Linked DNA regions of Homo sapiens: regions 1, 3 and 4 are each linked to region 2. Evidence: promoter capture Hi-C in human tissues and cell types (Jung and others, 2019). All regions are on one chromosome and are shown on one strand. The core of a region is centred on a gene start or on the middle of the fragment in contact, and the rest is flanking DNA. Distances in the headings are between cores, read along the strand shown. Region 1 overlaps DDX6 (DEAD-box helicase 6). Region 2 holds the start of HMBS (hydroxymethylbilane synthase). Region 3 overlaps LOC105369519 (a long non-coding RNA gene). Region 4 holds the start of PHLDB1 (pleckstrin homology like domain family B member 1).

Region 1 (6,596 bases), core at 2,310-4,809, 320 kb after region 2:
CACAGGAGGAACCAATTTACGAGATGACATAATGAGGCTTGATGATACAGGTAAGAAATGATTACTAAAAGGTAGTGTAGCTCTCTGTTATTTTAGTCACAAGTATTTCAGTAAATTATTAAAAATTGTTTTTAAGAATTAAGGAACAGAAATACTGCAGTAAGAAAAGGAAATGACCACTGCATTCAAGCGAAAAAGACAAATTACCATAATTGAAAACGATATTTGACTTTATTAGTAATTGTAAAACAGCAAGTTTATAATAATTTTACCTGTTTAATTGGTAAAGCTAAAAGTATTAGTAGACGATAATGTGAGTTTGTGGACAAATAGGCTACATTGTAAATGTGGGGGTGTAAACTTACATCTCTATCATGGGCAATTTGGGAGTATATTTTAAAATTATAAATGTATATATAATGTGTGTGTGTGTGTGTATATTTTTTTTTTTTTTGGAGATGGAGTCTTGCTCTGTTGCCCAGGCTGGAGTGCAGAGGCGCAATCTTGACTCACTGCAATCTCCGCCTCCCAGGTTCAGGCCATTCTCCTGTCTCAGTCTCCTGAATAGCTGGGATTACAGGCTCCCGCTACCACGCCAGGCTAAATTTTTGTGTTTTTAGTAGAGACGGGGTTTCACCGTATTAGCCAGGATGGTCTCGATCTCCTGACCTCGTGATCCACCTGCCTCAGCCTCCCAAAGTGCTGGGATTACAGGCGTGAGCCACCGTGCCCGGCCATAAATGTATATTTTTAAGAATCTTTCCTGAAGAAAAAAGTTGGGTAAATGCAGGGCTGTAGGTACAAAGTTGTTTGCTATGGGGTGGTATTGTCGTGCCGAAAAATTGGCCAACTTAGAAGGAGATTGGCTAACTAAATACGTTAAGGTATAATCTGAATAGGATTCTACATAGTCATTAAAGAGTAAAGTTGACCTGTATTCATTTTCATGAAGAGGTTTCATGATACATTGCCGAGTGGAAAAAGGTAACAAAACAGCAAGAATGAGATCACTCATATAAAATTATATCTTGATTTTAGTTAGAATATTATATATGATAATTATGTGATACATTCTTTGTATTGCATAGGTTTTTAAAAAATTATCTTGTTTGATCCTTTTAACAATACTCGGCTCACTGCTCTAGATTAGAGGCATTGCTCTTATGTCAGAAGTCTGGTGTGCCTTCTGCTATTAATTGAGAATTATCCTAAGACAAGAAAGTATGCCTACTGTTGAAAGCAGCAGGTGATTTAGGAAGCTGTACCCCACCCAATGTAGAGGTGAAACAAATATTTTTTAAGCATCCTGTGGTGAAATGGAAGTCTTTATCCTAAAACACATCTTTGTGCCTTTTTGTGTTATTTCCACCTCTATAACACAATGTGTTTCTTCTCTTTCTTTCTTTTTTTTTTTTTTTTTAATTTGAGACACAGTCTTACTCTGTTGCTCTGGCTAGAGTGCAGTGGTGTGATCTCGGCTCACTGCAACGTCTGCCTCCTGGGTTCAAGCGATTCTCCTACCTCAGCCTCCTGAGTAGCTGGGATTACAGGCTCCCACCACCACACCCAGCTAATTTTTGTATTTTTAGTAGAGACAGGGTTTCACCGTGTTGGCCAGGCTGGTCTCGAACTCCTGACCTCATGTGATCCACCCACCTCGGCCTCCCAAAGTACTGGGATTACAGGGATGAGCTACTGCACCCGGCCTAGTTGTTTCTAATAAAAGATAGTCATGTGCTGCATACAATGTTGTGGTCAGTGACGGCTGCACGTATGTCGGTGTTCCCATAAGATTATAATGGAGCTATACAATGGAGTAGGCTATACCATCACATAGCAATGCATTTCTCAGAATTATCATTAAGCAGCTCAGGACTGTAATATTATAAACCTTTATCCTCTTTGCTCAAATTAAAATTAATGAGAATGTATGTTTTCTAAATCTTGCATAGTGCACGTGGTGATTGCTACCCCTGGGAGAATCCTGGATCTTATTAAGAAAGGAGTAGCAAAGGTTGATCATGTCCAGATGATAGTATTGGATGAGGTAATGTCTCTTCATTTGGCATTATACTGTTCTGTACTTTTCTGTGCTTTGCTTATAACTGCCAGTGAATGAAGCAAAAGCTGCTTGTGTTTATGATCTAATAAACACATAAACAATCAGTTTAAATTAATTTGCTTATAAAATGTGTTTTACCCGTCAGAGGGAGTAGATTATAGGCATTCATTGGAATTCAGCATTTTGTCTTTTTCTTAGAGATAGCAGACATTAGGTTTTAATTTTTTAGTAGAGGAGTGAATAACCTCAATGCCAAATTTATTCTAAGTCTCTTTCTGCTCTGTGATTAATTTTTAAAAGCATATAATATATATTGTCTCTTCTCATTTTGTGCATACTACTTTGTACTGTTTGGTTTTTAATCTCTGTTACATGTATTATCTCACCATGTTATAAATGCCTTTTAAAAACTTATTAAAATCTGTAGTCCTGGGATCTAGCCATGTTTTGTACATGTACAGATGGTCCCTGACTTAAGATGGTTCACTTTACAGTTTTTCAGTGGAAGTGATAAGCTTTCATTAGAAACTGTACTTTGAATTTTTAAGATTGATATTTTTCCTGGTTAGTAATATGCTATATGATACTCCCATGATGCTGGGCATCAGCAGCAAACTGCAGCTCCCAGTCAGCCACATGATGATTGAGGGCAGACAGCCGATACTCTACAGTATACGGCGTTGCAGGTGATTTTGCCCAACTGTAAGCTAAGGTAAGTGGAGCATGTTTAAAGGAGGCTAGGCTGAGCGATGATGTTCAGTAGGTTTGGGTAATATTTTCAACTTAGGATGAATTTATCAGAACATAATCCCATTGTAAGTCAAGGAGGATCTATAGTGATCAGCGTTGTTAATGTTTTGACATGAGGTTATTTTCACATTTGGGTTGAGGTTTATTATTATTATTATTATTTTTTTTTTTTTGAGACAGACTCACTCTGTCACCCAGACTGGAGTGCAGTGGCGTGATCTCGGCTCACTACAACCTCTGCCTCCCCGCTTCAAGTGATTCTTATGCCTCAGCCTTCTGAGTAGCTGAGATTACAATTATGTACCACCCACGCTCAGCTAATTCTTGTATTTTTAGTAGAGGCGCGGTTTTGCAATGTTGGCCAGGCTAGTCTCGAACTCCTGACCTCAGGTGATCCTACTGCCTCAGCCTCCCAAATTGCTGGGATTACAGGCATGAGCCACCACGCCCGGCCTGGTTTGTGTTTTAGGTAACATGATTTAATTCAAATCAGACTTTTATCTTTAAGTAATGAGAGAGAACATTTATTAATCACTGGGTACCAGCACTAAGTGCTTTACATGGTTTGTTTTTTTTTTTTTTTTTCCATTTAATTTTTACAAGAAACCTATAAGGTAGGTATCCTGTCAAGTAGTTACTATAGTATGTAGACATCCAACTTCTAATTTGCTTATAAAATACGTTTTATACTTCAGATGCAATAGATAGGCATTCATAGGAATTCAGCTTTTTGTCTTATAGATGCCAGAGTTTAGGTTTAATTTTTAAGAAGAGGAGTGGCTGGATAACTTGAAAGTCAAGTTTTTTCTTTTTTGTTTTGTTTTGTTTTGTTTTTGAGACAGAGTCTCGTTGCCCCGCTTGGAGTGCAGTGGTGCGATCTCAGCTCACCGCAACCTCCACCTCCCAAGTTCAAGCGATTCTCCTGCCTCAGCCCTCCCGAGTAGCTGGGATTACAGGCATGTGCCACCATGCCGGGCTAATTTTGTACTTTTAGCAGAGACAGGGTTTCTCCATGTTGGTCAGGCTGGTCTCAAACTCCCGACCTCAAGTGATCTGCCCACCTAAGCCTCCCAGAGTGCTGGGATTACAGGCGTGAGCCACCACACCTGGCCTTAGCCAAGTTTTTTCTAAATCCCGGTAAAGTAGTTACTACATTATGTAAACATCCAAATTTTAATAGTTTTACAATTTTAGAGTTGTGGAAACTGAAGTACAGAGTAGTTCTGTAACATTCCCACACAGCTGAGAAATGAAGGAGGCAAGATTTCAACCTGGCAGTTTAGCTCCAGAACCTGTACTTTTTTTTGAGACAGAGTCTTGCTCTGTTGCCCAGGCTGGAGTGCAGTGGTGCGATCTCAGCTCAACTGCAACCTCCATCTCCCAGGTTCAAGCAGTTCTTCTGCCTCAGCCTCCTGAGTAGTTGGAATTACAGGCGCTTGCCACTGTGCACAGCTAATTTTTGTATTTTTAGTAGAGACAGGGTTTCACCATATCAACCAGTCTTGTCTTGAACTCCTGACCTCAGGTGATCCGCCCGCCTGGTCCTCCCAAAGTGCTGGGATTACAGGCGTGAGCCACTGCACCCGGCCTCAGAACCCTTACTTTTTTTTTTTTTTTTTTTTTGAGACGGAGTAGTCTCGCCCTGTCGCCTAGGCTGGAGTGCAGTGGTGTGATCTTGGCTCACTGCAGCGTCCGCCTCCCAAGTTCAAGCGATTCTCCTGCCCCAGCCTCCCGAGTACCTGGGATTATAGGTGCGTACCACCACGTCCAGCTAATTTTTGTATTTTTAGTAGAGATGGGGTTTCACCATGTTGGTCAGGCTGGTCTCAAACTCTTGACCTCGTGATTCTCCCGCCTCGGCCTCCCAAAGTGCTGGGATTACAGGCGTGAGCCACCGCGCCCGGCCAGAACCCGTACTTTTAAACACTACACCATACTACCTCTTTAATGAGAATCATCACATTAAAATTCTGTTGTGGAGCTGGGCATGGAGGTATGTGCCTGTAGTCCTAGCTACTCAGTAGGCTCAGGCAAGAGGATCACTTGAGCCCAGGAAGTTCAGGCTGCAGTGAGATACGATTATGCCACTGCACTCCAGCTGGGTGACAGAGTGAAATGCTGTCTCTAAAAATAAATAAATTAATTAAATTCTGTTACAGAAAGCGGGGGAGGTTGTCTGTGTAGTGTAGAATTTTTTTTTTCCCCTAGAAGATGGGGATTATAGATTTTGCCCCCTTCTGCATATTTGACTCTCTGCAGTGTTGGAGAGAATTTATTGTTTTCCACCAGGAACATTTCATGGATGCTTTTGTTGGATGATGCCTTATTCTTTGACCATGTATTAACCAAGACCTTAGACATTATTTTATTGTTTTTAAAATTGTCTTTTCTTTCTACTGCAGGCAGATAAGTTGCTGTCACAGGATTTTGTGCAGATAATGGAGGATATTATTCTCACGCTACCTAAAAACAGGCAGATTTTACTATATTCCGCTACTTTCCCTCTTAGTGTACAGAAGTTCATGGTGAGTATAAATCTGTACTTGGAATCAGTGCCATCCTGTGACCTTTGAGTATGCTTTTATTTGTAATTACATCTTCATATCTGTGAATATACTTTATGCTAATTATTTCAAGCCTTTGGCTCTTTCTTCAGTTGATCAATTAAAGATTTGTTTTACGTAAATTAACTGACTTTTTAAGAAGGTTGTAATAGTAACTTAATTAAATTCCTCATCTTTCACTTAGTTTTTGGTGTCATGATGACATAGCCATTGGTGCTAGCTGAATTGATTCCGGTATTATTCTATATACAAAACAGAGCTTGAGTATCCTAAACTGAAATCCAAAATACTGCAGAATTTGAAACCTTTTGAGCCACGAACATGATGCTAAAAGGAAATGTTCTTTGGATTTTGAATTTTCAAATTAAGGATGCTCAGTCACTAAGTGTAATGCACATATTCCAAAATTAGAAAAAATTTAAAACCTGAAACACTTCTGTTCCTAAGCATTTTGGGTAAGGAATACTCAACCTGTAGTAACTTAGCTGCATTTTTGAGATCTTATATCTTAATTTATTTCTATCGGGTCGGGCATGGTGGCTCATGCCTGTAATCCCAGCACTTTGGGGGGCCGAGGCGGGCAGATCACAAGGTCAGGAGTTCGAGACCAGCCTGGGCAACATGGTGAAACCCCGTCTCTACTAAAAATACAAAAATTAGTCTGTTATGGCAGTGCATGCCTGCATTCCCAGCTACTCGGGAGGCCGAGGCAGGAGAATCACTTGAACCCGGGAGGTGGAGGTTGCAGGGAGCAGAGATCGTGCCACTACACTCCAGCCTGGGTGACAGAGCAAGATTTTGTCTCAGGGTGGCAGGGGGGAAATTCTGTAATGACAGATCATATATTTTGTTTTGAAGAGAGTTGCGTCCCTTACAGCAAGAGTTTATCGGACAGAAACGTATAGGGTATATTTTGAATTTGAGATGAACTCTGCTTTCATTTAAGACGACGACTCATCTTTTTCCCGCTCCCCCCCCAGAATTCCCATTTGCAGAAACCCTATGAGATTAACCTGATGGAGGAACTAACTCTGAAGGGAGTAACCCAGTACTACGCATATGTAACTGAGCGCCAAAAAGTACACTGCCTCAACACACTTTTCTCCAGGGTAAGAAGTAGGCTTCTGCTGTTGAATATTATCTCTCGAGTCCCAGTAAAACAGATGATTTCATCAATTTTCCCACCGTCTTCACTGTATAAAAGTTCGTAGTGTTTCTGG
Region 2 (6,562 bases), core at 2,233-4,732:
GTGAGCATCATAACTGTTCTGACAAACCTCCTCCACCCCGGCTCCTGCACCCACCTGGCTCTTGCGGGTACCCACGCGAATCACTCTCATCTTTGGGCTGTTTTCTTCCTGCAGAAAAAGTCCCCAGGTCACAGTCCCCTCTGTTTCTAGTGTTCCTCAACACCTTGTCCAAGAACCAGAATCACTGGCTTGGAAGAAAGGAACTTCAGAACCTGGCCTGTGGCCAGCTGAGTCTCAGAGTGGGGAAATACTCCAAGGCTGGTCCCTTTAACCTTCCTCAGTACCTTCTGCCCTCCTCAGGGATCCAGAGAAGCAGAGACTAGAGGGAGGCGATAGTAGGACCTGCTGTTGCTGCCGCTGCAGTAACCAGGACACTGAGCCCTGAAGCCCACCTTGACCAAGGCAGTTGTCAGTGGGAGTGCTGTGCACAGCCAGGTGGGTAAAGAGATAAGGCCCATCAGCCTGGCCACAGGAAGGGTGGGGCCTGCAGCTGGCAGGGGCAGGGCAGCCAGGACCACACTGGGGAACCTGTGCTGAGTCACTGGAGGATAGATTCATTATCTACAACAGACAAGGCACTTGAGAAAATTTCAGTGCCATCCAGATGCCACATGGAGTAGACTAGAGTCTAAGAGCAGCAAGCTGCCACCTTCTCCAGCAAGAGGCCCAGATGTCTGGCTACAAAAGAAGTCAAGAGGATGAAGATCCCACAGTGGGGAAAGCTGACAGTATTAAGGGTCCCTTAATCTGGCTGGACTGCATGCATTAAGGACTGAGGTAAACGGATCTGACGTACAGTCCTGCTCAGCCTCTTGGCTGGGTGACCTTGGGTACACTGTCCCACCAGGATCTGTTTGTTCATCTATAAAATGAAAAGGTTGGACTCAGGTTTCTTCTGCCTCAGATGTTCCATAAGACTAGGAGGCTGCGCTGCCTAAAGTTCGTGCACCTAGAGTGCTGCCTCTGGTTTCACCAACATGGAAATATTAACAGGCCAGAGCCCAAGTCAAGAACTCAAGAGGACACGCCTCTTCCTCCTGCCAGAGTACCTTGGACAAAAGTATTCACTGCTAAGCACGTAGAACTGAATTCTTCAGTCTAAGACGGAGGTCCCATTTCTCTCTTTTTTTTTTTTTTTTTTTAGACAGAGTCTCACTGTTTTGCTCAGGCTGGAGTGCAGTGGCGTGATCTAGGCTCACTACAACCTCCACCCCTGGGTTCAAGCTGGAACTACAGGCATGTTCCACCATGCCCAGCTAATTTTCACATTTTTAGTAGAGACGGGGTTTCACTGTGTTGGCCAGGCTGGTCTCGAACTTGTGATCCTCCTGCCCCAGCCTCCCAAAGTGCTGGGATTACAGGCGTGAGCCACCACGCCTAGCCTGATCCCATTTCTTTCTACATCAGACAGTAGCCACTGTAGATACTGATACTGTCGACAGTCAACATTCCCTGATCTGGGATGTTCATCCTATGTAGTTCCTTTTTTTTTTTTTTTTGAGACAGAGTCTCCCTCTGTTGCCCAGGCTGGAGTGCAGTGGCATGTTCTCAGCTAACTACAACCACTGCCTTCCAGGTTCAAGCGATTCTCCTGACTCAGCCTCCCAAGTAGCTGGGACTACTACAGACGCACACCACCATGCCCAGCTAAAATATGTGTGTGTGTGTATATATATATATATATTTTTTTTTTTTTTCTTTTTTTGAGGGGGAGTCGCGCTCTGTCACCCAGGCTGGAGTGCAATGGCGCGGTCTCGGCTCAGTGCAACCTCCACCTCCCAGGTTCAAGCGATTCTCCTGTCTTAGCCTCCCAAGTAGCTGGGACTACAGGCGCATGCCACCACGTCGGCTAATTTTTTGTATTTTTAGTAGAAACGGGGTTTCACTGTGTTCCCTAGGCTGGTCTCGAACTCCTGAGCTCAGGCAATCCACCTGCCTCGGCCTCCCAAAGTGCTAGGATTACAGGCATGAGCCACTGTGCCCGGCCTAATTTTTATATTTTTAGTAGAGACGGGGTTTCACCATGTTGGTCGGGGTGCTATGGAGTTCTTTTGCACCCAGACATCTGGGGCCTCTATTGCCGAAGCAGGTGACAGCTTTCTGCCCTCAGACTCTGGTCTACTCCATGTGATCACTCCAATAAATTAACCCTGGGAGACCCTTTGCAAATTAGGCTAGGCTTGATATTAAACGTGGCCACCAAAATTCTGGGCCACAGGGAGCCCACAGAAAGGACTCTAAGGTCCCAGAACTACTAGGTTCAAACAATTCCTTAAGTTCATTGAATGTGCACAGCATATCCAAGTCAAACCGTTTCATTAAAAAATAAAACACTGAGCACTTCTATGTTGAAGCTATTGCTTTTGCATATTGTTGTCGTCTCAAAAATCCTATCAGGTGGACAAGACAGGCACCTTTGGGACCATGTTACAGAAGCAACGGGTGGCATCAAGGGATGAGGTGACTTGCCTAGGGTCACAGAGCTAATAACCGAAAGAGAGTTGGGGCCACAATTCAGATCTTCCTACTCCTAGTCCAGGGCTCTGGAATGACTGCAAGAGCAAAGATCCCAGCCCTCACCAACAGGCTGGACAGGGGGAGATTAGCAGCTCCCCATCTCTTTCTTATCTCGGCCTGGCAGTGGCCTCCACCAGCTCTGCAGTTTGTCTGTGCACAAGCCCAGGGCTCGGCAAGCAGGCTCGTAATGGAAAGGCCCACGGCGGCCTCCCACCCACGGTAGTAATTCAGTAGGTGTGTCACAGCTGGGGACTTGGAGCGTTGGCTGTGGCTGGGAGACCACTATAACACAAAAAGAAGGCGCACTTCTAAGACGTTTGTGTGCAGTTCGGAGGCTTGGCTGATACTCTCTCCTATGAATCAAAAGTGGAACGTGTCTTCCCAAAGGGGCCGTATCTGCATCCGCCTCAGCCCAGCCTCGAATGAAAGGACCCCGTCTGTGTAGACGAACGTTCTTGGTCTGGGTCACTAAATCTAGAGCCGTGCATCCCAGGCCTGATGGGAATCCCACCCAGATGCCCGCAGGGACCGGAGTTCCGTTCCAAACAATCCTTCCACTCTTAACCCAGTATCACCGCTCTCTGATTTCCCCATTCCTTCCGGAGGGCAACCGAGCTACTGGCCCTTTAAAAGCTACTCGGACCAAAAAAAAAAAAAAAAAAAAAAAAAAAAAGATAGCCGTTCTGACCAATAGACGACTGAGGATGGCAACCTGGGGCCAATCGCTGCACGGCTCGTCCAGAAGCCCAAAGTGTGCTGGTCACCGGCTCAGCACTCACCGCCGTTGCAGCCGCATTGCCGTTACCAGACATGGCTCCGCTTGGAAAGTAGGCTGTGTGTGGGTGCCGCTAAGGTCCCCCGGCCCCGGGAAGCCGGGGGCTCCGGCCGGCGAGTACCGGGGACACGTGGGACCCGAGGTCGTCCTACAGTCTGACTCCTGGTCTCCGCAGAGCCTCGCGTCACTTCCGGCGCCCTCCCTCGAAGGGGAGGTCCCTCCCTCTGGGCGGGAATTGGAACATTGCGACAGTGGACCTCCCCATTCGACCACCCCATTCCCCAGCTGTGACATGAGCAAGTAGTGCAGCTTCTATGGCGCTTCCTTTGCTCTGTTCAAACTTAGCTTTGCTACAACCTTGAAATAGGCAGCATTTTTCTTTTTGATACGGGGTCTCACTGTGTCCCCAGACTAGAGTGCAGCGGCATGACCACGGGTCACTGCAGCCTTGACCTCCCGGCTTCAGCGATCCCCCCACCTCAGCCTCCCAAGCAGCTGGGACTACAGGCGCACATCACCACGTGGGACTAATTTCTAGATTTTTTTATAGAGACAGCGGGGAGGTGGCCTCACTATGTTGCCCAGGCTAGTCTCGAACTCCTGGACTCAAGCAGTCATCTCGCCTTGGCCTCCCAAAGTGCTGGGATTACAGGCGTGAGCCACTGGCCCAGCCAGCATTTCAATTCTTAAAATGAGGAAACTGGTTCAGAGAGATTAAAGGTCATGCCTAAAGACAAGTAACTGAAGTGGGAGCACAAACGCTACATGTAGTGAGAAAAGGGCTTGTTAGGAAAAGTGCTTTCCCATGAACATAATTTTTTTTTTTTTTTTGAGACGGAGTTTCGCTCTTGTTGCCCAGGCTGGAATGCAATGGCACGATCTCAGCTCACTGCAACCTCCGCCTCCCGGGTTCAAGCAATTCTCCTGCCTCAGCCCCCCGAGTAGCTGGGATTACAGGCACGCACCACCACACCCAGCTAATTTTGTATTTTTGGTAGAGATGAGGTTTCTCCATGTTAGTCAGGCAGGTCTTGAACTCCTGACCTCAGGTGATTCGCCCACCTCGGCCTCCCAAAGTGCTGGGAGTACAGGCGTGAGCCACCGCGCCTGTAATCATGAACATAATTAACAATCATGATTATTAATAATCACCCAGCTAGGTGCAGTGGCTCACACCTATATTCCCAGCACTTTAGGAAGCCAAGGCAGGAGGATTGCTTGAGCCCAGGAGTTTGAGACCACCCTGGGCAACATGGTGAAAACCTCATCTCCACAAAAAATACAAAAATAGCCAGGTGTGGCGGCACACACCTGTAGTCCCAGCTATTCAGGAGGCTGAGGTGTGAGGATCGCTTGAGCCCAGGAGGTCGAGGTAGCTGTGAGCTGTGGTGGTGCCACTGCACTCTAGCCTGGATGACAGAGTGAGACGCCCATTTTTTTTTTTTTTTTTTTTTGAGATGGAGTTTCACTCTTGTTGCCCAGGCTGGAGTGCAATGGTGCAATCTCAGCTCACCGCAACCTCCACCTCCCGGGTTCAAGCAATTCTCCTGCCTCACCCTCCTGAGTAGCTAGGATTACAGGCACCTCCCACCACACCCAGCTGGTTTTTGTATTTTTAGTAGAGACGGAGTTTCACCATGTTGGTCAGGCTGGTCTTGAACTCCTGACCTCAGGTGATCCGCCCACCTCAGCCTCCCAGAGTGCTGGGAATACAAGCATGAGCCACCGCGCCCGGTGAGACCCTGTCTTAAGAAGAAAAAAAAAATCACCCATGTGCTCAGCACTGTACAAAGAACTGAACACCTATTTGATCCTTAGGCTTTCATAATAGCCACACAGCATAGGTGTTATAATCCCTAACGTACAGATGAAGACACAGGTTGAGGGGGAAAGGGTGGGAGCAGGGTGAGGGATAAGAGACTACACATTGGGTACAGTGTACACTGCTTGGGTGATGGGCACCAAATCTCAGAAATCACTACTAAAGAACTTATTCACATAGCCAAATACCAACTGTTCCCCAAAAACCCACTGAAAAAAATACATCTCAAAAAAAAAAAAAAAACATGTTGAGAAGGTAAGATGTGCCTTAAGTCAAACAGCACAACTAGGATTCAAACCCAGCTCAGTAGATGCAAAGTCTACTCATAGCATAGCAGCTACAATACTGCCACTGTTTTTTAATTTTTTACTTTTTGAGACAGGGTGTCTGTCACCCAGGCTGGAGTGCAGTGGTGTGATCAAGGCTCACTGCAGCCTCAACTTCCTGGGCTCAAGCAATCCTCCCACCTCAGCCTCCTGAGTAGCTGGGACCACAGGCAAGCGCCACCAGGCTGGGCTAGTTTATTTTTATTTCTTGCACAGACGGGGTCTCACTATGTTGCCTGGGTGGCTGGTCTTGAACTCCTGGACTCAAGCGATCCTCTCACCTCAGCCCCGCAAAGTGTTGGGATTACAGGCATGAACCACCGCGCCCAGCCCATGGCAATCCTAAATACTACCTAAACCACAGTGTCAAACTTACGTCCTCCAATTAAACAACGTAGAAGATGAAATTAGGTGAGGCTGTGGGGAAAACGACAACATAGGAGCAATTTTCAGACAGGCAGCACCACCCAAATTACACGGGGACACCTAGCAACATAAACTTTAGCTGACAATTTCAGAGAGGGAAAGGTGTTTCCAGAAAGGACCTTTTATCCCGTTTATCATCTGGTATTAAGTATAGCAAGACACCAACCTACCCATTATTTAAGGTAGGTTAAGCCCAAAGCTCCCTACCAGAATCTGCCTCCTGCTTGAATATTTTGCCCAAACTACAGCCATAGAGACCAGGAAGAGGAAAGAGTAAGAGCTGTTTTGGGGGTCTTGGTCCAGGCTGCTCCTGGAGCTCAGTCATTAGGTCTTTTGCAGAGGTTCTTCAGTAAATTGAACTGTATGCGATGCCACAGGCCCCACCCATTACCAGAACGAGACTGAGTCAACATGGTCTCCAAGAAAACCGTAGGAGGGAAGTGGAACGCCAGGAGAGCAGAGGGAAGGAAGTCCATCATGCAGTTAAGAATCACCAGGAAGTCCCCAGAAAAAAATCCTTAAGCTCCCAAATCATTATATTCTTTTATTTATAGACTCTGAGAGCAAGGACCCAAGCACAGCCTGGTGCTCTTGGATAGAGAAGAAAGCAGCTATTGTCCACACTCAGAGGTTGCTGAGGTGCCCTCCCCCACTGATCTGGAATGATCTACACTGCTAGTGAAGAGGAGGGATGGC
Region 3 (5,970 bases), core at 2,676-5,175, 380 kb after region 2:
AACCCCGTCTCTACTAAAAATACAAAATTAGCCGGGTATGGTGGCACATGCCTGTAATCCCAGCTACTCGGGAGGCTGAGGCAGGAGGATCGCTTGAACCAAGGAGGCGGAGGTTGCAATGAGCCAAGATAGTGCCATTACACTACCAGCTTGGGCAACAAGAGTGAAACTCCGTCTCAAAAAAAAAAAAGTACAAAAATTAGCCAGGCTTGGTGGTGTGCCCCTGCAGTCCCAGCTACTCGGGAGGCTGAGAGGTGAGAATCTCTTGAACCCAGGAGGCAGTGCTGCCATTGCACTCCAGCCTGAGCGACATAGCAAGACTCTGTCTCCAAAAAATCAATAAATAATAAAAAATAAAGTCCAGGTGGGGCACGGTGGTTCATGCCTGTTATCCCATCACTTTGGGAGGCCGAGGTGGGCGGATCACCTGAGGTCAGGAGTTCAAGACCAGCCTGACCAACATGGAGAAACCTCATCTCTACTAAAAATACAAAATTAGCCGGGCATGGTGGCACATGCCTCTAATTTCAGCTACTCGGGAGGCTGAGGCAGGAGAATCCCTCGAACCTGGGAGGCAGAGGTTGTGGCAAGCCAAGATCGTGCCACTGCACTCCAGCCTGGGCAACAAGAGCAAAACTCCATCTCGAAAAATGAAAAATATTAAAAAAAAAATAAAGCCCAACTAAAAAATTTTTTATGTTTGCAAATTTTATAAATGCATATGATCATGTTAACACCAGGGCTTTAGTAAGTGAGCAGTCTTGAAGCATAAGCATCATTAGCTTTATGGTAAATATGCCTCTGATCCTGGGGAAATAGGAATATCCACACCTTCCAGGGGTTATTCAATCTTGCTCTGAGCTTGACTGATCCTCAGAGACCTAAACTACCCACAAGGTTCCAGTCAGAGTAGGGACATGTGGAGGTCAGGCAATTGGATGGAGTCTTGGCTATAGGATGTCTACCATTGGGACTGGAGACACATCTTGTACATTAAACCAGTGGCCAATATATGGTTCCATCTTCCCCACAGGTGAGATGTGTGGGTCCAGGAAGCAAGGCCTGGAGAGGAGAATTATGCTTTTCACTATTATTCCTAATAACCCACTAAAAAAGTTTGCTTCCCATTGTAAGAGTTAAAGAAAGAGGGAAGAAACACGAACTGTGGCTCAATTTAACGACAGATGTATTTTAGAGAAAATAAGCCGGAGAGGGGCTTCTGGCCAATTTTGTTCAGGAGCACTTTCTCTTACGGACTAAGAGTATATATTGGTTTTAGGATGAGGGGGCTTATTACAAGCTCAGAATGTTTCTGTGTGGGGGAGAAGTTTATGGCAGGGTTGGGATGTCTCTGGTCGGAGGGGAGGTTATCTTGGGTCTGACATCTTTCTGGCCGGAGGGGAGGTTATCTCAGGGCTGGCATGTCTCATGGAGGGGTTTGGAATGTTCCTGGTCAGAGATGTTATTTATGGTTTATGGTCATGCTGACCTTAGCCATCAGGCTGATATCCTTTGGGTTTAGGCAGTTTTTGATCAAGGGGAACTTCAGAATGACCGTGCTTGTCCAAGATGGCGATGCTTTGGCTCTGTCACCCATCATCCCACAACATTGACGCTGGAGGTCCTGGGGCCTAGAAAAGAAATGCTGTTAGAGGAAACAGTCATGCTTCTGATGAATCGGAAGTTGAAGCTACTCCCTGCTCATTTGGGGCTCTGCATGCCATAGACCAAGAAGCAAAGAGAGGGGTTATGGTAGTAGGTAGAGGATGGACCCTGATCACAGGATGAAACTGGATTGCTGCTGTTGAAAAGGGGCGAGGAAGACAGTGTCTGAAATCAGAGACATCACTGGAGCACTCCTAGTCCAACAGTCCTAGTCAATGGAAAACTGTGGCCACCCCCAAATACAATGCAACTGTCTTAGTCTGTTTTCCATTGCTATAACAAAACACCTGTCTTAGTCCAACTGGGTAAATTACAAAGGAAAGGGGCTTACTTAGCCCACGCTTCTGGAGGCTGAGAAGTCCAAAATGGATGGCCACATTTGGTGAGGGCCTTGTGCTGCTTCTAGCATGGGAGAAAATAGGAAGCAGAAGAGGGCACGCGGCCAGAGGCAGCCTTGCTTTGTAACAACTGGCAACTGCAGTAATCAATCGAGTCCCACAAGAAGAACTCACGCACTCCTGCGCTAATCCCTTCGTGAAGCTGGATCCCTCATGACTCAAACACCCCTTAAATGTCCCGCCACCTCTCAACATCATTACAGTGGGGACCAAGCCTCAAGATGAGTTTCGGTGGGGACAAACAATGTTCAAACGATCGCAGCGGCCGAGGACTCAGACCCTGCAGGAATGAAGATTTGGGTCACCTCGCCAAGTAGAGAACCCTGTCCAAAAAGGTGCCAGCAGAGGTAAGGTGAGCACAGAATGGAAGTTATGATTACCTGCTTAGGTTTTGGGGACAGCTAAGGAGGTGGGGACTGTAGCAGCTACATTTCATGAATTTGGGGCTTTTTTTCTTCCCCATCTCAATCCATTCTCCATCTTAATCCATCTGGGTTACTGTAACAGAATACTATAGACTGGGTGTAGCATAAATCACAGAAATTTATTTCCCACCGTTCTGGAGGCTGAGAAGCCTCAGATCGAGGGGATCGAGGAGCCAGCGGATTTGGCGTCTGGTGAAGGCTTGCTTCATGGCTCATAACCAGCATCTTCTTCATGTGGCCTCACATGTCAGAAGGCACAAAGGATTCCTCTAGGGCCTCTTTTATAAGAACCTGATCCCACTCATGAGGACCGCATCCTCGTACCCTAATCACCTCCCAAAGGCCCCATCTCACACCATCCCCTTGAGGGTCAGCATTTCAACACAGGAATTGCGAGGAGACGTAAACATTCACTCTGTTGGGTTGGGCACCATGGCTTACGCCTGTAATCCCAACACTTTGAGATCAGCAGTTCAAGACTAGTCTGGCCAACATGGCAAAACATTGTCTCTGCTAAAAATACAAACATTAGCCGGGTGTGCACTTGCAACCTCAGATACTTGGGAGGCTGAGGCAGGAGTCACTTGAGACTGGGAGGCAGCAGTTGCAGTGAGCAGAGATCATGCCAGTGCACTCCAGCCTAGGGGACAAAGCAAGAAACATCTTAAAAAAAAAATTCACTCCGTTGCACCCCGTTTTACTCATTACCTTAACTGAGGAACACCGGCGATTTCAGCTGAGAGTATGACCAGCTGACATCAGTCCACAATGATATGGTAGCTATTACGACTTATAGATCCCCTGTGTTAGGCGAACAAGCTCTTCACCTGGACAAAAGTCTAGAGCGGGTGCTGAGAGGCCAAAGGGCTGGGCTGGGCTATTTACCTTTTGTTTGCCCCTCCGTATGCACCCCCTCACCATCTCCACCCTGCCCTCTGAGGCTGACCAGTGTGGTCCACATCCACCAACTCCCGTGGCAGGTGGCCAGAGGGAGACAGGAGAGGGAGGTCAGGGTGTTTATTTCCCTGGCTGGCTGTATCCCTCAAGGGACAATGACATCTTCTCTTCCTGGGGCCTCGCAGCACCGCTCTCTCCCTGTGGGTGCCAGGGACTGTTCTCCCCTTCATCCCTTCAAGCTTCGTGAGGGCACCGCCTGGCTGCTGCTAAACTCTGGATTACTGCGCCATCCTTTGTGGTTCCCCGACACCCACATCTTTGCAAATAAACTCTCCTCCAGTGATCCTATTTTGAATATGCCATCTGTTTCCTGGTGGGAGACCAACTAATACAGTGGGTTTTATGCCAAAATGACTCTGCTAACAGTTTCATATTTGAACTGCAACTTGTGGTGTCCTGGCTTTTCCCTCTTAAAATCGGAGCTGTTTTGAGGAGAGCCTGGGAGTGCCTGCCCGTCACCCTGGCAAAAGGGCGAAGGAACACAATGTAATCATCTAACATGGTGCCTGGGGCAAACAGACTCAACTGCTGGAAGATTCTTTCCAGTTCCCCATTTCCCTGTTATCCCATTAAGGGCCCCAGGCTCCGTACTGCAAACGAGGCTGCTGGAGGGAGTCAGCATCCTTTGTGTGCCTATAATGCAAGTTCGTGATTTGAAGCAGGGAGGGGTTAGAGTCATCTTAGCAAAAAAAAAAAAAAAAAAAAAAAAAAAAGAGAGAGAGAGAGAGAAGCTATATTATTGAAGGCCTGCTCAATTCTTAAATGTTAATACACTTGCAAATGCAAAAGGAAAGAAGAAAAGACATCTAATTTTATAAGTTTGGAAACAAACAAAACCAGACTCCAAGCAGGACAAACCCAGTCCACTGGCAAGCAGGCGTAGACTGAACGCGAAGTTAATGAAGCTGAAGTCCCAGGCACCGCACTTGCATGAGGCCCTTCAAACACCCTCATCCTAATTTTGTATTCATAATTTGATTCTTTTTCTTAAAGAGGCCTCCCCAAATTATTTAAGCTTCAGGTCCCACAAAACCAAGCTCCGCCCTCTGGCAAGTGATTATTTTGCCTCCTCTCCAGTACACAATGAGATTCTGTTTGGGACACTTCAGTGACCTTTTTGTCTGCCCGCTTACCCCATCAGAATTTACATACATTCTGGGTTCATACAAACAAAATAACGGCTCAGAGGAGACGTGAGCTGTGCTCCGTGACAGTGGCAAGGCTGCAGCCTTGGCCACAATGAGAGCTCTCGCTCTCTGGGCTTCACCCATAATAAGGACACGTGAATGGGTGGGATGACAGACAGGAAACACTTCCCCAGCTTCCACCGGGGCAGGGCATGCAACCACAGCAACCACAGGGCATGGGGCGATTATTTGACTTCCAAGTCCAAATTAGAACATCACAACCAGCTGGGCGTGGTGGCTCAACGCCTGTAATTCCAGCACTTTGGGAGGCCAAGGCGGGTGGATCACCTGAGGTCAGGAGTTCGAGACCAGCCTGGCAAACATGGTGAAACCTCGTCTCTACTAAAGATACAAAAATTAGCCAGGCATGGTGGCGGGCACCTGTCCCAGCTACTCAGGAGGCTGAGGCAGGAGAATCGCTTGAACCTGGGAGGCAGAGGTTGTGGTGAGCCAAGATTGTGCCACTGCACTCCCAGCCTGGGTGACAGAGACTCTGTCTCAAAAACAAAAACAAAAAAATCACAACCACCATTAACCACTACCTCGAAACTCTGTGGCTTCACATCGTGGAGTGGGAGTTGTCCTCAGCTCCTCATGCCAGGGGTAAAGATTCTTCATTATTCAAAAAAGGTGCCATCTGATTTGCTTCAGAAGTCTAACATTTTGTGAACCCTTTGACACTGCCGTTCCAGGTTCAGGAGTCTGTTGTAAGGAAATAATACTACAGTGCATAAAGACATGAGTACTCAGGCGTTCATTCTCCCCAGCGCTGTCTGTAAGAAAAAAAGGAATAAACTAAAATGTTTATGTTTATTCAGTGCTTAGTGATAAATAATTAAATAAATGTTGACACATCCACATAGTAGAATGCTGTGAGGCCATTAACATTAGAAGGTGGTAGAAAACATAATAACAGCCGTGCACGGTGGCTCGTGCCTGTAAATCCCAGCACTTTGGGAGGCCTAGGCGGGCAGTATCACCTGCAGGTCAGGAGTTCAAGACCAGCCTGGCCAACGTGGCGAAACCCCATCTCTATTAAAAATACAAAAATTAGCCAGGTGTGGTGGTACATGCCTGTAGTCCCAGCTACTCAGGAGGCTGAGGCAGGAGAATCACTTGAACCTGGGAGGCAGAGGTTGCAGTGAGCCAGGATGGGGCCACGGCACTCCAGCCTGGGCCAGCAAAGTGAGACTCCATCTGAAAAAAAAAAAAAAAAAAAAAAACCAAGAAAAGAAAAGATACTGACATGGAAAGGTAAACATGGTATGAATAGACCCAGGGATGGGCCCTGTGGTCCCACTCCCTGGTGTTCACACCCTGTGTAACCTCCTCCCCTGG
Region 4 (6,765 bases), core at 3,357-5,856, 480 kb after region 2:
ATCCTAGACAAGTTATTTAACTTCTCTGATTATCAAGTTATTCTTCTATAAAACTAGAGTAATGGAAAAAAATAAAAAAGACTGTCTGGATCAGTGCTTGCCTGGGGCTAGGGGTGGAATGAGGAGTGACTGTAAAAGGGCACAAGTTTGGTGGGGGTGGGGTGGGGGGAATGTTTTCAAATTAAATTGTGATGATTGCATGGCTCTGTAAATATACTAAAAATCTTTTAATTGCATACTTAAATTGGGTGGATGTTATAGTATATAAATTATACCTCAATAAAGCTGTCAGTTTTTTAAAAAGGACTGTCTGAAATTCAGGTATTATATTAAATGGCATTCTGTGAAAGCAAAGCACTTAATGCCATTTATTATTATTATTATTATTTTTTTTTTTTTTTTGAGACGGAGTTTCACTCTTGTTGCCCAGGCTGGAGTGCAGCGGTGCTATCTCGGCTTACCGCAACCTCCACCTCCCGGGTTCAAGCGATTCTCCTGCCACCAAGCCCAGCTAATTTTGTATTTTTAGTAGAGACGGGGTTTCTCCATGTTGGTCAGGCTGGTCTCGAACTCCCGACCTCAGGTGATCCGCCCGCCTCGACCTCCCGAAGTGCTGGGATTACAGGCGTGAGCCACCGCGCCTGGCCCCGTTTATTATTATGAGCTGTGTGACCTGGAGCAAGGCAGTTCACCTGTCTGGGCGTTAGTTTATTTATCTGTCATATTGGAGTATTGGTCACTATCGCCGTGTGGGGCAGCTGTGGTGTGCTCATTTATTTACACCCAAGAACTTCAAGTGGAGATAAAGATTGTAAAGGAGTAAGGCCGATGGAGAACAAGAGTGATTAGAGGAGAGAAGAGAATAAGGAGGCGAAAGTAAAGGGAGAGATAAGGAGAGAGGTGTGGGGAGAAGATAAGAAAAGATGGAGAGATTGGGAGGTGCGAGGCTGTGGCCCCAGCACAGTAACCTGATCCAAGAGAAGTGGAAAGAGACACCAGGCCAACCTGCCCTGCACTCAGGCGGTGCTTTCCCAAAGGGCGATCGCCGCGGCCGAGAGCGGCCACCTGGGGGCGCCCTCACCTTGACTCCCGCTCTGGCCCCGGCGGCTGAGTGGCGCTACGCGAGGGACGTCCCTCACCTGCGGCCCCGCTTCCATCTGGCCCGCGGCTCCCCAGCAACCCGGCTGTCATTACCCGCCCGCCCGGCCCCGCGGCCAAAAAAAGACCCCTGCGGTGCGCGTCCGGCCCTGGGTGCCCTCCCGCACGCTGGGTACAGACGCCCCAGTGCCGCCCCGGCAGCCGAGTGGCGGAGGCCCAGGTGTCTGGATTTGACGAGCGACAGGCAAGGCCCTCTGTGCGCAAGGCCGGGGCGCCGGCAGGTGACCCCGGCCCGGGCCCTCGGCCTCCTCCCCCGCGGGAATGCGCCGACACCCCAGCCACGCGGGACACCAGTCTGAAGCCCTCTCCGCCGAGTGGAGCACCCAGAGTGAACTCTCGGGGGTCTTGGCCCCCGCCTGAAGGAGGCCAAGGAAGGGCCGACTGGCTCCAGCACCAACGGGCACTGACACAGCTCCCGGGCTCCCACGGAGTCCCAGGACGAGAGGTCCAAAGCCAGCCCCAGAGCACCAGACCCGGCCCTTCGCGGGGCCACTGCTCGGGCGCTCCCCGGAGCCCCGCGGGTCGCCCGGCCTCACCTGTGTCCCTGGGGGTCGGCCTCGGCCTCGGCCCAAGCGGTGCATGGCTGTGGCCAGAGGCCCGCCAGGCCGAGCTGGGGTCCTCTCGGCCGCCGCCTTCGCCCTCCAGGCGCACATCCGCCCTCGAGAAAGGGCCGCCGTCAGAGGAAGGAGTCAGGAAGGGAAGGAAACTGAGGCGGGGAGCCCAGCGGGGGACGCCCGAGTGGGGAGGGGGACGAGAGAACTTAAGGATGAGAAAAACCTGACAGAGATGAATGGGGGTGTGCAGAGGGACGGGGCGGGGAAGGGGAGCCACCGGGATGTGAAGGGGAAAATGAAAGGCAGACTAAGAGATGGGAAAAAATGCAAGCTGGGGAGGGGAAGACCGAGGGCAGAGGATGCGGGGAGACTGAAGAACACAGAGGTGGAGGGGTCGGGGGAAGAAAGGACAGGCGGGTCCTCAAGTGGAGGCGACGACAGACGGGAACACTGGGGATGCGCGAGGGCAGCGGAGGGGAGGCTGACGGGCGGGGAGATGGGGCGAAGGAGAGGGAGGCTGGGGCCCACCGGGACCCCAAAGGCGGAAGAGAGGAGAGATGGGCGGCCCGAGGAGAGGGGGAGCCGGGAGAGCGCGGATGGAGCGAGGGCTGTTGCTTGGGTGTCCGGTGGTGGAAAGGTGCCTCTCCGCGGTCCGCAGGGCCGAGGGAGGGAGGTTTCCGCAAGGTAGCGGCCCCTTGCACCCCTCGGCCTGCTCCTGCCCAGGCTGCCCGCGTGGGACAAGGCCGCAGTGTTGGGCGCCTGCCGCTGCCGCCTGCCCGCCCGCCCCTGACAAGCGGCCTTTCTTTGGCGGGGCAGAGAGAAGGAGCCGCTTGTTTGCGCGGCCGGGAAACGGGGCGGCCCCCACAGACACCGCCCGTTCCGAGCCTGGCAGCTGCGGGAAGGGCGGCTGAATGTGTGTGAGGGGCCGCGTGTGTGAGCTGGGGCTGCGGTGTGAGCTGGGCTGTGTGTGTGACTGGGGCTGCATGTGTGAGGGGGCTGCATGTGTGAGCTGGGCTGCGTGTGTGAGCTGGGCTGTGTGTGTGGCTGGGGCTGTGTGACGGGCTGCGTGTGTGAGCTGGAGTGTATGTGTGAGCTGGGCTGCGTGTGTCAGCTGGGCTGTGTATTGAGCTGAGCTGTGTGTGTGATAGGCTGTGTGTGTGATGGGCTGTGTGTGTGAGCTGGGCTGTGTGTGTAAGCTGGGCTGTGTGTGTAACTGGGGCTGTGTGTGTGAGCTGGGCTGTGTATTGAGCTGAGCTGTGTGTGTGACGGGCTGCGTGTGTGAGCTGGGCTGTGTGTGTATAACTGGGGCTGTGTGTGTGAGCTGGGCTGTGTGTGTGACGGGCTGCTTGTGTGAGCTGGGCTGTGTGTGTGAGCTGGGCTGTGTGTGTGACGGGCTGCTTGCATGAGCTGGGCTGTGTAACTGGGGCAGTGTGTGTGAGCTGGGCTTCGTGTGTGAGCTGGGGCCTCGTGTTTGACTGGGGTGTGTGTGTGAGAGCTGGGGCTGCGTGTGTGAGCTGGGCTTCGTGTGTGAGCTGGGGCCTCATGTGTGACGGGTACGTGTGTGAGCTGGGTTGTGTGTGTGACTGGGGTGCGTGTGTGAGGTAGGCTGTGTGACTGGGGTGCATGTGTGAGCTGGGGCGCGTGTAAGCGGGGCTGCGGGTGTGAGGGGCTGCGTGAGCGCGGGGCGCTTTCCTGTGAGGCGTAAGGCATGGAGTGCGTGGGAAGGCCTCGGCGTGTGGGCGGGTCCGGGTGTGTCTGGGTGGCGTGACGCAGGGACGTAGGTGTGCGAAGTGTCGCGGAGGCGTGCGTGTGTGCCGCGTGGGAGCCCGGCGTGGTGGGGCGCCTGCGTTTGCGTTTGACGGCTGGGGGGTGAGCCCGCCGCCCGATGAGTCAGCCTCGGGAGGCTCCAGGACCGCTGAGCTAACGGCCCAGAATGCAGCCCCGCCCCAGAGCCGTGGGTCCCCGGCAGGGCTGTGCGGTCGCCCGGCCAAGTCCCCACTCGAGCCTGCCTCGGCGGAAGCGCTAGCGGGCGACTCGGCCACCCTGCGCCGGCGCCCCTACCCAGCCGCCCGCCCGCACTTCCCTATCCCGGGGGAGCCCGGATGACTTGGGTCAGCCTCCGCTCGGGGAACTCCGCTAGGGATTCCAATAGGGACCGCGCGGGCGTGGCAAGGCGCCCCAGGCGGCCTCCCCGGCCCCCGAGGACGTGGGGCCTTGGGGAGTGCCTGGGAGGCCCCAGGCGGGCTTCCCATCTCCTGGACACCCCCAGGCAGCCCTCCTAGACGCTCAAGACTCTGAGCCGGACTCCGAATCCCTTCCTGGTCCATCAAGGCGGCCGGCCTGGGGACAGGCGGGGAGACGTCACAGGAGATACCCCCGCCCCAAGGTCCTGCTGTGGGCGGAGAGGGGGAGGTGTGGGGCGCTGGAGGACGAAAACCCGCGCGCGCGCTCGCCGCCCGATACCCCGCGAGTGTCCGCCCGGCCGCCTGGGTGCCGGCGGGAGAGTCTGGATAGGGCCAGGATCAGAGTTTCTCCAAGGGGGGGAGAGCGTCACGGCCCCCTCTGGCGGTGGCGTTGGCAGCGGCCGAGGAAGGCAAAAGCAAGAGGCTCACAGGAAAACTCCCCATAACGCTCCTTTCGCCCCCACGCACTCACCTGGGGTGCCCTCTCTCCCCCACGGGTTTCTGCCGAGCTCCCTAGCCTAGAGCTGATCTCAGGGCTCTCGCCAGGCCCCGGGGACTTCCCCTTATCCAGTCCTAGCACCGCAGCGAATGGGACCCGCAAGTGTAGTGGGACGGGGCGCTCTTACCTAGAGGTGGGGGGGGGGCAGGGAGACACTGGTCCCTTAGCCTGGCTCGGCTCGGTCGCGGTGGCCTCAGGCTTAGGAGGACACCGTTGCTTTTCCCCGGGAGCTCGCTAAGTAGGAGGAGAGCGAGCCTGTCCCGCCCCCCTCCCGCCAGTCCCCGCCCCCGTCCCCCGTCCCGTCCGCCTGGCCAGCCAAAGAAGACGCCCTTGTGGGGCTGGAGCCCAAGGTCCCCCCACCCACCCTTTCCCACAGCAGCACCTCCCCCAGCCTGCACAGCGCCCGCTTTGTTCATCTTTGCAGCTGGGCTCTCCACCATCACCACCACCACCACCACCACCACCACCACCACCACCACCACCACCACCACCACCACACATCCCCCTCTCCTCCCACCCTGCCCTCCCGACTCTCCTAGACCACCCTCCACTCCCAGGCTTTAACACGCTTTTGAGAGGGTGTTTTTGACAATCCGTTCTCCCTCCCCCAAACTCTCCCCTCTTTCTTTTTGCCTTAGATGCCTGAAACCTCCACGGGCTCCCACTGAACCTCCCAAATCGAAGCCCCTACAACATGCTCTCAACATCTCCAGAACATCTACTGAGGGTACCCAGGTCTTCTCCCTGTCACCTCCTCCCCTCGCCCTATTCCAAGCCCCACCATGAAGAGCTGTAAATGACATTGATAGCCACGCACATCAGGCTTCACAGACTTTCTTAAGGATAGGCACAAGAAGACTCGTTAAAGTGTCATGCAAACTCCAAAGCACAGGAAAACCGAATGGAATTATCATCTTGCCCCCATGGAGCTCCACACCCCTCCACCCCGACAGACTTGCTGGATTACAGATTGGGAGATGGAGGCAGGCTATAGACATACAATTGAGCACACCAACCTGTAGTAGGAGTGGGAGTTAATAAGGAAGAGAAGGAGGCACTAAACACCTAAAAGCAGCCCCCAAATTGAGCTAGGTTGAAGTCATTCTCCATCTCAACCTCCACTCCGAAATCCAACGCTGACAGTGGATCCTTACCTTGCAAAGCCAGCTCTTGGTCCAGGAGACTGGCTGGGGAGGCCCTAGGGAGCTGAACTCAGCTGGACTGGACTTCTTTGACCTGCACTAGAGGGACCCTGGAGACTCTTCTTCACTGAAGGAAGGAGCAGAAAGCCTGTAAGTCTGGTCTAAATTCCAGCTGGGGTGGATAGCAAAAAATAATTTATCCTCTTTGAGATGGACAAGTGCTGTTCTAATTCAATGAGTTTAGTTTGTGCCGTCTCTCCCTAACCCAGGAACAGCAGGAGGCTGAACTACAGGAATCTCTGGTCACTCATTGACAGGGCTGGCCTTAGCAGGGGACCCCCCACGGCTGGAGACTGAAGCTGACCGGGGCCAAGCAGCAGACAAGGAGGGGGAGGGGAGAGGCCGCCCTTTGCTGCCACCTGCTATAGCTAATGGAGGTGGAACACTCAAGATCCAGAATATGCTGTGGGTACCAGGAAGTCCTAGGATTTGAGGAGCGAGACTCTAGTTTTTCCTCTCTTCATACTGTTTGAAGTCATGAAAGTAATTCTGATGAACCTTCATGAGGCAGATCACAACAGTAATATTCAGGCTATTTGGGTATGTAAAAAAAGGAAGAAGGAAAAAACCCAAACTGTTGTATCCCATGTGCCAAGACCCAGCACTGAGGGGAGGGGTCCAGATTGCAGTACCTCAGAGGCTTTTCACTTCATTCTGTTTCACGGCCCCCAGCTCCTCTTTACTGTACTGGGCAGGAGGAATTTCAGGGAATAATCAAGCCTGCCATGGAGGCAGTGGATGCTGAGGCAGAGGGTCGAAACAGCACCCAACTTCTCTCACTGACCTCCCAACACAGGGACCAGCTGACCCTATGATAAAGGCGCTGTGCAATGTGTCCTCTCCCCTGCTGTGTCAGGCCTCTATGTTCCCACAGTTAGAGCACTCAGGGGACTAAAGACCTACCGCCCCCACTCTCCATCTCCGCCCTGCTCCACATCTGGAGCCCATCAAAAAACTCAGCGCTCTCTCACAGTTACGCAAGAGGTCGAGCAGCTGGGAGCTCAGGAAAGGGGGAGGAAGAGAGGGAAAGAAAGCAGAAAACAGCTTTCCAGGCCTGCTTCAGACTTTCCGAAGTGGAAGCAGGGGGAGAGGGCAAAGCCTGGGTGTGGAAGGAAGAGTGGATTTTTCTAAGGCCCTTTGCATTGGCTACAAGTGTCAGGAGTGAATTT

What was found. The method cuts DNA at HindIII sites, captures the fragments that hold promoters and counts their contacts. A contact is called where the count stands out against the background at its distance.
Region 1: a fragment that was not itself captured here is called in contact with the fragment with the promoter of HMBS in region 2 in 1 of the 25 tissues and cell types used here (spleen).
Region 3: a contact is called between a fragment that was not itself captured here and the fragment with the promoter of HMBS in region 2, in 1 of the 25 tissues and cell types used here (dorsolateral prefrontal cortex).
Region 4: a contact is called between the fragment with the promoter of PHLDB1 here and the fragment with the promoter of HMBS in region 2, in 1 of the 25 tissues and cell types used here (stomach).

What each region holds. Positions count from the first base shown.
Region 1 is chr11:118,758,663-118,765,258 of GRCh38, reverse strand. It overlaps DDX6 (DEAD-box helicase 6), which reads left to right. Exons shown (of 14, transcript NM_004397.6): 6 at 1-50; 7 at 1,953-2,047; 8 at 5,215-5,337; 9 at 6,357-6,485. Among named protein-coding and RNA genes, the nearest start is that of DDX6, 29 kb to the left of the region's middle. The HindIII fragment of the contact is 8,956 bases long and covers 1-6,596 here.
Region 2 is chr11:119,081,801-119,088,362 of GRCh38, reverse strand. It overlaps HMBS (hydroxymethylbilane synthase), which reads right to left and starts at 3,482. Exons shown (of 14, transcript NM_000190.4): 1 at 3,297-3,482; 2 at 55-108. The coding sequence starts at 3,329. VPS11 (VPS11 core subunit of CORVET and HOPS complexes) reads right to left here. Exons shown (of 16, transcript NM_021729.6): 16 at 6,391-6,562. RefSeq lists enhancers at 3,205-3,254, 3,184-3,881. The HindIII fragment of the contact is 11,043 bases long and covers 2,963-6,562 here.
Region 3 is chr11:118,704,043-118,710,012 of GRCh38, reverse strand. It overlaps LOC105369519 (a long non-coding RNA gene), which reads right to left. Exons shown (of 4, transcript XR_007062909.1): 3 at 5,175-5,405; 4 at 1,170-1,631. It overlaps LOC124902766 (endogenous retrovirus group K member 7 Env polyprotein-like), which reads left to right. Exons shown (of 3, transcript XR_007062912.1): 3 at 1-676. Among named protein-coding and RNA genes, the nearest start is that of TREH, 27 kb to the right of the region's middle. RefSeq lists an enhancer at 4,798-5,299. The HindIII fragment of the contact is 5,774 bases long and covers 1,039-5,970 here.
Region 4 is chr11:118,605,456-118,612,220 of GRCh38, reverse strand. PHLDB1 (pleckstrin homology like domain family B member 1) reads right to left here and starts at 4,606. Exons shown (of 23, transcript NM_001144758.3): 1 at 4,522-4,606. LOC124902765 (a long non-coding RNA gene) reads left to right here and starts at 3,710. Exons shown (of 2, transcript XR_007062908.1): 1 at 3,710-4,098; 2 at 5,033-6,765. RefSeq lists silencers at 1,320-1,379, 3,895-3,964, 4,025-4,114 and enhancers at 2,087-2,760, 2,761-3,435, 3,473-3,767. The HindIII fragment of the contact is 15,479 bases long and covers 1-6,765 here.